Linked DNA regions of Homo sapiens: all the other regions are linked to region 3. Evidence: promoter capture Hi-C in human tissues and cell types (Jung and others, 2019). All regions are on one chromosome and are shown on one strand. Each heading gives the region's core, a stretch centred on a gene start or on the middle of the fragment in contact. The rest is flanking DNA. Distances are from core to core; before and after follow the strand shown. Region 1 overlaps DELEC1 (deleted in esophageal cancer 1). Region 2 has its middle 340 kb from the start of DELEC1. Region 3 holds the start of TNC (tenascin C).

Region 1 (3,560 bases), core at 641-3,140, 280 kb after region 3:
ATCCTTTTCTGACTATTTTTGTTGTCTAGAGTTATGTCCATAAGAGGTCAACTCGCTGTGGCTGAAAAGAAGGGAGCGTATTGGATATTTAGTTGTGAACTTTTGCATGCATAGGCTGAGATGGGCTAGTCAGAGATTAATCATACCTGTGGGGCCAATTTGTTCCTTTCAACCATCATGGGAGGGAACCATGATTATTAGCGTCTCTACTTTATAGATGGGAAAACAGATTCCCAAGAATTTTGGTGACTCACCCAAGACCATACAATAACCTAGTGACAGAGTCAGAATGTGAACTGGAATCTCCCCAATGCTTGACTATACTACAATTATTGGAGGACCTAATGATCTTTTTTATCTTACCAAAAATCAGAAGAATGTTTAGTGACCAAACTCTGCATCTGGTCTTATTTCTCTTGACCTCTAGACTGAAATGTTCCCAATTTCTCCTCTTTCTGAGCCATATAGCATTGCCAGCTGGTAACTTCTCAGTAGGCTTAGTGAGATCAAATATGTGAGAGTTTTCAAATTGGGGTGTTTCAGCTTCAACGACCATCATGTGCATCCCTGGAATCCCAGGACACTGGGGCATAGACAAAGCTTAACCCCATCATATTATTTGACATAAGGGGAAACAGATTCAGAGAGAAAGAAGGAGTTGCTCATAGTCACACAACTGCTGTGACATTGCATGTCCATCGGTGTTTTCCAAGAACTGATGAAATAGATGTTCAAGGAAGCTCAAAGAGAAGAGATAAGGAGGAAAAACATTCATTATTAACAATCTCTGTCACTTCCTTGCTGTGCAATCTCTGATAGGTCTCTTAAACTTTTTAATTCTCAGCTACCTCCTGTGTTAAATAGTAATCATATTGGAAAATACCCCAAAGGTATATGAGGATTAATTGATTCTGTGTATGTAAGTCTCCAAGCACAGGGCCTGACCTTAGTAGAAATCAATGCATAGGAGCTATAATAAGGTCTTATCAGGTCAGAAGCACAGAGAGAAGGAGTGGGTTTGTGAGCTTGAGCGGGACATTGCTAGAGGGAGCTGAGAGAGTGATCTGAGGGGATGTCTGTGAGTTCCCACAGAGCAGTTCAGTTTGGGAAAACAGAGGGGTGAAGATAACAGGAAAAAAAAGGGCATGTCCTTTGGTAAATTGCTTATTGTTGCCCAGATATCACTGTGGTAACAAGGAAAGCCCCTGAAATCAGTTTGTCCACAGCTCAAGATATAACTCCCCAGGGTTTTCAGTGGCAAGTTAAGGGGTTCCAAGGAGGAGCCAGGAATGAGGCAGTCACAGATGGGAACATTTATTTCTTTGAGAGTCTTCCGTTTAAGATGTTCTCAGAGTTTTGGATGAGCTAAAGGGCTCTTCAGGCTAGAACTTGGTCTTGGAGGGCAGCTTCCCTTCCACCTGGCCATGTTTATCTTACTTCCATTAGAAGGCAAGATGCCAACTTTCCTATTCAATGAAGTGTTTAGATTCCATGAGGTTTGTAAATAGCCTCTGGGAACTCCTTTCTGAAACTTCCCATAGGACTTCTAAACTCTCCTTAATCAGAGCAGATTGCAAGAGCAAATGCTTCTTATTATGGGTTTTAAAAAGGTGAGTAGACCATAGATAAAAATCATAGTAAAAGTGGGAATTTGAGGAAGGTCTGTTTGCTCAGGAAAATTTTCTAAATTTCAAGGTTATAAATGAAACTGTAGATGATCACTCAGGCAGGATGTGGTTTAGTTTCTTCATGACCATGATAATGTTTTTCACATAAAAAGATAAGTAGTACTCATAGAATGATGTAGAGAAAATCATTTTGTTTGAAAGAATAAATTGTTCAAGCATTTGTAGGCAGTCATTCAGTTTTAAGTAGCTACAGACAACCCTTATCTGTTCAGTTACAGACAATCCTTATCTGTTCATGGCAAGTAGCCACATACTTTTCACCAATATCCTTTTCTGTAGCTCCCCAGTGAAGAGTTGACATTAAAGTTCCAGGGTGGAGTTGGAGTAATTTTGTTTTCCTCCAGGGGACACAAGTGCAGAGAATGGATAAAACACAAACACTAACAGAGAATAGATAAAGCTTCACTCTTTAATGCCACCTCCTGGAGCCCATATGAAACCCAAGAGTGAAGAAAGCAAAGGGTTCTTAGGCATAATAGGGCATTAAGGATAACCATCTCTTATTTCTTTTCATTCCAGACAGGGTTTGGCCTGGCAGTTCAACCTGATTGCATGAAGGGTTGTGGTAGGCAGAGATGTCTGATTGCCTTTGAATTCTTTGTTTTCTAACCAGAGGGGAGATAGTTCTTTCAACAGAAAGTCCCAGCAAGTGCAACAACAACCGCGGCCTGGTGTGCCTCTACTTGCCTTGGCTGCCTCAGAAAGAGCCCTGAACACTCCTCCTAGGGCCTGTCTATGAAACCAACTGGATGTAGTCTTATTATTTATCAGAAGTTGCCAAGCAAGCAGTGGTAGACAGCAGGCTTTCAGGGAATTATCCCAGGGATTCCTTACCAGTCTTCAACCAGATATCACACCAGAGCAATACATATTCCCCATGCAAGAAGCAGAGTAAGCAATCCATACCCTTAGATACATAACACTGATTAGTGCCTCTGTTGTTAAAGTTATTTCCCTTTGTATAAGATGTATTCAATGTTTCAATGTTTACAGTGAATTTAAGAGGTAGATATAATAGTTATGGTGAAAACCCTCATTTTGCAGAAGAGAAAACAGAACATTGCCTATGCAAAATGAATCTACCAAGGTCCGCAGCTATTAAGTGCAAAGTACAGGATTTAAACCTGTTTTGAAAAAATTGACAAAGTCTCAGGGCCTTGTCCTGGGTCCATTCATTCCATTCAGTCACATATATTCTAACTCATTCATTCATTCCTTTAGCAAGGATGAATAGAGCACCTGCTACGTTACAAGCCCTACTCTAGGTACTCAGGTTACGTCACAGAACAAGAAAGACACAAACATTTGCCTCTGCAGTAAGATATAGAATAAAATATGTATAATGTCTCCCTTTCCATTGTCAGCCATCACCTTGCGCAGCACGGCTTTCTACTTAAAGAGTGTTTATTGTGTAGGCGAAGTGGGCACAGACAACGGACGATAATCACAATACCAGTTTAAATACTAGATAAAAGGTGCTAAGTGATCTGGAAGAAAGAGAGGAGGGCAAAGGAGATCAGAAGTGTTAGGTAGAAGGACAATTACAGTTTTAAGTAGGATGACTATGGTAGTCCTCATTGAAAAGGTAAATTTGAGTTTGAATAAGCTCCAGAGAGGAATCTGGGAAAGAGCTTTCCAGGCAGAGGACAAAGCAAGAGAAGAGATTCTAAGGTGCCAGGCATGGCTAGAGCCTTGCCTGTGAGTGACGGGAGAGTAGTGGAAGCTGAGGTTTGCAAGATAATGGGGCCAAATCATGGGGGCCCATACAGGTCATTGTGATGACTTAGGCTTTTACTCTGTAAAAACTGTAAAGTCACTGCTGAGTTTTGAGCACTGAAGTGGCATAATCAAATTATATTTTTTCAATGATTC
Region 2 (3,541 bases), core at 290-2,789, 360 kb after region 3:
TACACATTCTGCCAATTCAAATGTTAATTTCAAAGAGAAAGATTCTCACAGACACACCCAGAATAATATTTGACCAAATGTCTGGCCAACCCATGGCCCAATAAAGTTGACACAAGAGGCTGGGGGGCGGTGGCTCACGGCTTCTGTAATCCCAGAAGCCAAGGCTGGCTGATGACAAGGTCAGGGGTTCGAGACCAGTCTGGCCAACATGGTGAAACCCCGTCTCTACTAAAAATACAAAAATTAGCTGGGTGTGGTGGCAGGTACCTGTAATCCCAGCTACTCAGGAGGCTGAGGCAAGAGAATAGTTGGAACCTGGGAGGTAGAGGTTACAGTGAGCCGAGACTGCGTCATTGCACTCCAGTCTGGGCAACAAGAGAGAAACTCCGTCTCAAAAAAAAAAAAAAACAAAAACAAAACAAAACAACAACAACAACAACAACAAAAAACAACTAAAGCTGACACAAGAAATTAACCATTACTCCATTACTTCTACAGTATAACAGACACCTAACTGGGTCCTGGAAATCATGTAAGAGAAAAGTTAGGTGAATCCTTTCTTTGAAATTTATAATCTAGTGGCTCAACCCAACTTAGAAATCTCTTCTGCAGTATTTTTGATATGGAATCATATTCTACTTCTGTTTAGATATCTCTGGGGACTAAGATCTAGCAGTTATAATTTCTAACACATAGTTGACCCTGCTTATGATTTAGATTTAACTCTAATTTATTGAAAACTATTATATACCACTTCTATGTGTTCTCTTGTATGTTTCATCTCATGCATTTGAACTCATAAACAATACTGTGAGGTGGGTAGTCATTGACCTGTTTTTAATTTCCAGCTGAGAAAGGTGAGGTTTAAAATAATAATTATAAATGAAAAGAAAAATTATTTAAGAATTAAGCTTTCACAGTGAAACTACCCTACTGTGTTAGCTGTGCTAATCAAATGAAAATAATGGTGCTGATATTGTTTGAAAAGGAACTTATGCTGTTTTGTAAACAGTAAATAATAGAATTGAATTTCCTTGTAAACACAAATGCAAGTACTTTATCAATCTTCTACTAAGATTTCATTTGAAGTTTGGCTTAATATAGCTACATTAAGAGCTACATTAAGTAGTTTTTTTTCTCCATCAGACTAATGCTGCTCTCTAGTCAGAATATCACAAAATCAAATTCCTTCATAGTCCTCAACACACTTTGATTTTTGTATGGTCCTCCCCAACCCCTCCATGACCACAAAGCAAGAAATCTCCATGTATGCAGGGATTATAGTTGTGTTTTTCTACAGTGACTTTTTCATCCTAGGGCAGATTCTGGATCCCTGTGGGTGCTCAATAAAGATTTAAATAATTAATACATTACTTTTTAAAATCCTTCAACATAGGATTATAATTGTGTACTTATGAGATTATATTTGTGTACTTATGAGAACCTCCTCACCCCACCACCCCACTATAGATTTAGTTTCCTGTATGGTATGGACTATGTCCCAATCATGTCTGAATTCCCAGTATTAAGCGCATGGCCTAGCCTAGAATAACCTCAGTCATTTTATGCTTGCTAATGAAAGAGTCCTCACTGAGAGTATCTATCCTTCTGGCACATCGAGAATACAGACAAAGAATAAAGCTGTCAACAAAAAAACAGACAGGATTGTGGTAAGGAAGATGGGGCAGAATACATAGAAGAAAAACAGATGATGAATGGGCATTTGTCTGACTGTTATCACCTCATGCAGTTCAGCCCTTTTCACCCAGACTTATTCTGGGGCTGTGGAAATTATGCTTGGACTCCAGTTATTTTTAATAAACTATCTTAATGGTAGTCTTCAGCAGAGCTGAGATTCTCTTCTCCTTTGTCAACCCATCTTCTATCCACTTTACTGAGTCACTTTTTTTCTGGTTCTGATTTATTTGCTCAACATAAAAAAAAATGTTTTTAGCATCTACCATGTGTCAGACACTTGCAATACTGATGTCACTCAAGTATCAGAAAAGATAACTCTGTTCTCCAGAGTACCAGAGGACTTGAGATGAGTTCTCTGACAATTCCATAGCCTGTGAAATCCCCAAGCTTTCGCCACAGTTTCTGCTAATGCCTGAAGATTAATATTCTACTGTCTGTCACTTCTTCATCTCCATGTGTGGAATCTTGCTGCATACTTGGTTACAGAAACAAATCTCAGCCATTTTGTGAATCCCTGAAAAGATTCACCTCATATAAAAGCATTATTAAAGAGGGGAGAATGTTTTAAATATTTTGTGGAGACCTGTGGGACACCATCAAGTGGACCAATATATACATAATGGGAATGCTGGAAGGAGAGGAAAGAAAAAGGAATAAATATATATATATATTTTTAAAAAATGGCCCCAAAACTTCCCAAATTTGATAAATAAATCTATACATCTAAGAAGTTCAACAAACTCCAAGAGTATAAACACAAAGAAATTCATACCAAAAAACATTATAAACTATCAAAAGAGAAAGACAATGGGAGAATATTGAAAGCAGCAAGAAAGAAGTAACTCATCATTTACAAGGGATACCGAGTACGATTAATAGATTGTATCTCAGCTGAAACCATGGAGGCCAGAAAGCAATGAGATGACATATTTACAGGGTTAAAAGGAAAAAGAAAACATATCCAGCAAAAAACTACCTTTTAATAATAAAGGAGAAATTAACACATTTTCAGATTGACAAAAGCTAAGGGAAGTTGTTGCTAGTAGATCTTCCCTACAAGAAATGCTAAAGAGAGTCCTTCAGATGAAAATGAAAGGACACTAGGCAATACATCAAACAAATAAAAACAGAACCCCGTTAAATATAACTACATAGGCAAATATGTAATATAACCCAGTTCATTTTGGGGGCTGCTTTAGGGTTTCTGTCCATATATTTTTAATTATTTTTCCCAGAAAATAGGCCTTACTTTTCTGTTTCTATGTGTTATATTTTTTTGTTGTACTTGAAAACTAGACATTTTGAATATTATAATGTGGTAACTCTGAAAACTAGATTATCTTTCCCTCCCTAATGTTTGCTGTTGTTGCTTGGTGAGGGCTTGGTTATCCATTTGTTTAATGACTACTCCAGACTATTTTTTATAAAGTCTGTATTTCCTGTCATGTGTGGTAATTAAAATCTCTGTTCCATTATTTCAGTCATTAGCTAGTGATCTGACAGAGTTTCTTAAATTTCTGGAGCCAAAAAGACAACAACAAAACTACTCTCTTGGTCTACGCAGGTTGGCTTTGGGCTGAAATAATCATTCAATTCTTTGCCATTGTGTCTACAACCCTGCCTTGGCCCTTACTCCCTATTTATGCAGAGCTGAAACATCAGCCAGAGGTCCAGACTAGGATCTTTTCAGGCCTTTTCCAGCCCTAGGCATGTACATTGCACTTTGGATTTTTTAGTATACATGGTAGCATTTCAAACTCTTATCCCCCTCAAGACTCTTCCTTCTCAGTTACCTCCTTTCTAGGCTGTATGGTCTGTCTACTGATTGCCCCATCTGCCATCC
Region 3 (3,311 bases), core at 239-2,738:
GTACTTCATAGCTGTCAGCTTTAGAATCTGCAGATGCCTAAACTCAAAACCTCCTGACATTCTGGAATCAAAATTTGACATTAACTTCCAGCCCCGGGCTACTACCTTTTCTCCAACCTGTGCCAACACAACCTCCTGCTTGTAAAATACAGCCAAGTCTCAGACCTGCCAGCCTAGTGAGACACCCTCAGATTGGGTGAGATAAAAAGCGGGGGCTGGGGGCGGGCTGAGGAACAACACACAAGAAACAATCCAAGACTGGCTCAATGCCTCTTTTAACTTCCAGAGTGATGGCAGTTTTTGGCAATGACAATGATTATCCAAACTTCCAGTTATTAAGCAGTCATTGCTGATCTTTCTATACCTCATTTTCTCCTCAAAACGACAGCAGACGCTATTGTCCCCATTTTAGAGATGTGAAAACTGAGGATTAAGGAAGTGATGTATCTTTCTCAGGGTCATATGTATGGTGGTGGGGAGAATACCAAACACCTCTGGCTTCAAACCTAAGCTCTTATTCCTCTTACAACACTGATGGGTGAGAAGAACCCCTGTGTTCTTTCCAAAGTACACCAGGGGCAGCAGGGTTCCCATACCTGGGGGATGTTGTTGCTCAGATCTTTCTGTGATGAGAGGTGAGGAGGAGGAGGTGATTCTAGAGACATGTGGGACGCTGCTGGCTCTAGGCACCCCAGTAAAGCTGTTCTCCACCACTCTCTAGCTGCCTGTCAGTTATTCATCTGGCCCAGGAGCCACCTCCTCTCTTCTGTCCCCCAGCTCTCATTTCCAGGGTGAATATTTTGAGGACCAAATGAGGGAATGGGTACAAAACTCTTTGTAAACTTTATGTAAGTGCTGTTTAGATATAAACTTTTATATTCTCCCTGCACTCCTCTATCAAACTCCCTCTAACCCATCCCAGGGGCAGGCTATGAGCAAAGTCTGCCTTAAAACTCTACTGCCCTAACCCTCAAAATAAAAGATATATACAGGTGAATCAGCCAGACTAGAAGTAGGAGAGCAGTTGAAGAGAAAATTTTTACTTTTCCTCTGCAGAACAGCAGAAGATAACAACTTTACGAAAAGTTCCTTCCAAGTCTGACTATTCATAAAGTTAAAACAAACAAAATTACAAGACCAGAAAAGTCAAGGTGCATCTGATATAACCAATACACACTCCTTTTTTTTCCAGCGGTGGAAAAAAAAACCCCATATGTTTTGTAATTATAATATAAAATCACAACTCATTTGGTACCAGGAATGCAATCCTTACATCATAAGGATCTCTAGTGATGAGGGCAAAACAGACTTACCTTTCCGATGGGCGAGAGACCTAGGTCCTTGGAAGAAGTACCTGGAGTGTGGAGCTGCGGCGGTTCCCACGTGCGCGTTCCCCCGAGTTCCCCAGCAGCGCTGCCTTTGTGCCCACGGAGGCGGGGGCGTGTATCTGCGCGCGGGAGAGGCGGGTGACAGTAGGCAGGCTGTGGCCGGTGCAGCCAACTTTGGCTGGCTTATATAGCGAGCTCCTTCCTCTGTAATGGGACGCCTCGCCTCCAGACATCCTTTCCCACTTTTTCAGTTGGCGAATTAAAGGAACAGCCCTCCCAGCGGAACAGGGTTAGCTCATGAAAGACGCACTCACTCCTGGCTCTCGGCCAGGGAAGGAACCCATTTGCATACAATTTATGGCGAAAGTAGGAATTCCCGCCTGCCCGCCCCCGACCCCGAGTAGCTGTTAGTGAAATGTGATTTTTGCTTTGCTCCCCACACGGGTTTTCTAATTGTGAGACGGATGCCTGGGGAGCAAGAGGGAGTAGGATCCGCAGCCCTGGCTCCCCTCTTGTACTTGGTCAAGCTGGAAATGGGACCAGGGCTCGCCTGGGCTCTGGGCAGCAGCTGCTCAGTGGCACCTCGGAGCGAGTACAGGGACTGAGCCCAGTTCCTGGAAAGAGGAGATAAAGCCCTTCAAAAGCCTGGGGGGTTTCAGGTTTCTCTGGGCCAGCGGAGAGATAACCCAGGATTAGGTCTCAGCAGGTGGGGATCGTGCGGGACGCTCACATCAGCCCTGCTTTTCTTGTGTGGGAGCCAGCCTTGCCCAGCTGCTGGGAGGCATCTTTGTTCCAGCCCCAGTGTCCTGCAGGGCAGTAGCTTTTTGACATTGTTCATGCCCTGTGCCTGGTGTGGTCTTCTCAGCTGGGTCTCCAGGGGGAAGGATTTCTGAGGTTTTCTCTTAGTGCTGAAAGGCGTCCCCCACAGCCCTTTCTTTAAAGAAAAGCAATAATTTAAAAAGGTAACAACCTAATCCTTGAGCCATAAGCTGCGCCTTTGCTTTCCAGCCTGCCGTGGATTTCCTCCAAGCTCTGAGTCATCCGTTCGTTTGGTGGTTAGCATGCATTGAGTATCCTCAGGGCATACAGGGGCATTTAAGGGAGTGGAGAAGTAGCACTTCACCCGTGCCTAGAGACTTCTGAGCCTGCCGCAGAGCATAGTAGTTTGTGACAGTGAAGTAAAATGAAGCATTAAATGTAATTCAAAACGCAACTACCATTGAGCCCTCCCTTATTAAGTCTATAATCAGGTGCTGTGCAGGGTACTTTATGAACACTATTTTTGTTCACTATTTTTATTATATCCTTGTAACCAGTAAGTAGGATAGACACAAGTGTCTCTTTTTTACACAAGAAAACTGACGTTTAGAGAAGTAATGAAACTTTACCAAGGGAATACACCTGGGAAGTGTTTATATTACAACACTGGGCTCCAGAGATCTATTACACGTTACTGTTTAGGAATAGGGTATGATGATATTTAAACAATGTTTTATGCTGTATTAGATTGTTAACACCATTTGTGTAGAAATCACAGCCATATTTGAATATGGAAAATATATTTATTTGCTCCATAAAGCTAATTAGGAGAGATCTTTGATTTTTAAAAATTAACTACTAATAATGGAGGTCTCAATTATCCACTTATTTTCAATATTAAATGATATCATCCCCACAGTTATTATTGTTGCTGTGGGCCTCAGTTTCCCCATCTGAAAAAAAAAGCAAGACACGATTAGGTCATCCTACGGTTGCTTTGGCTGTAGTATTTTAGGATTCTCTGCTAAAGTGACCCTCCCAGACAGCAAGAAAGCCCATAAATAGTCATGTCATAAAACCGCTCATTTGAACTTTTGATCCATTTTGGCTGATTCAAATGTTGGTTGTTTGGGAAGTTTTAAATTCTGTGCTTTAGCCAAAGGATATTTCAGTAGCATGAAGCTGTGTCTCAACCAGCAGTGAGTGGTTCCTACTGAGTTAATC

Evidence for each region. The method cuts DNA at HindIII sites, captures the fragments that hold promoters and counts their contacts. A contact is called where the count stands out against the background at its distance.
Region 1: a fragment that was not itself captured here is called in contact with the fragment with the promoter of TNC in region 3 in 4 of the 25 tissues and cell types used here (IMR-90 fibroblasts, hippocampus, lymphoblastoid cells and 1 more).
Region 2: a contact is called between a fragment that was not itself captured here and the fragment with the promoter of TNC in region 3, in 2 of the 25 tissues and cell types used here (dorsolateral prefrontal cortex and mesenchymal stem cells).

What each region holds. Positions count from the first base shown.
Region 1 is chr9:115,394,398-115,397,957 of GRCh38, forward strand. All of the region lies in intron 5 of DELEC1 (deleted in esophageal cancer 1), which reads left to right. Among named protein-coding and RNA genes, the nearest start is that of DELEC1, 250 kb to the left of the region's middle. The HindIII fragment of the contact is 5,994 bases long and covers 1-3,560 here.
Region 2 is chr9:115,480,298-115,483,838 of GRCh38, forward strand. No RefSeq gene overlaps it. Among named protein-coding and RNA genes, the nearest start is that of DELEC1, 340 kb to the left of the region's middle. The HindIII fragment of the contact is 4,934 bases long and covers 1-3,541 here.
Region 3 is chr9:115,116,669-115,119,979 of GRCh38, forward strand. It overlaps TNC (tenascin C), which reads right to left and starts at 1,489. Exons shown (of 28, transcript NM_002160.4): 1 at 1,314-1,489. All of the region lies in intron 2 of LOC124902255 (a long non-coding RNA gene), which reads left to right. It overlaps LOC101928748 (a long non-coding RNA gene), which reads right to left. Exons shown (of 6, transcript NR_110950.1): 6 at 2,871-3,040. RefSeq lists an enhancer at 1,768-2,587. The HindIII fragment of the contact is 7,931 bases long and covers 1-3,311 here.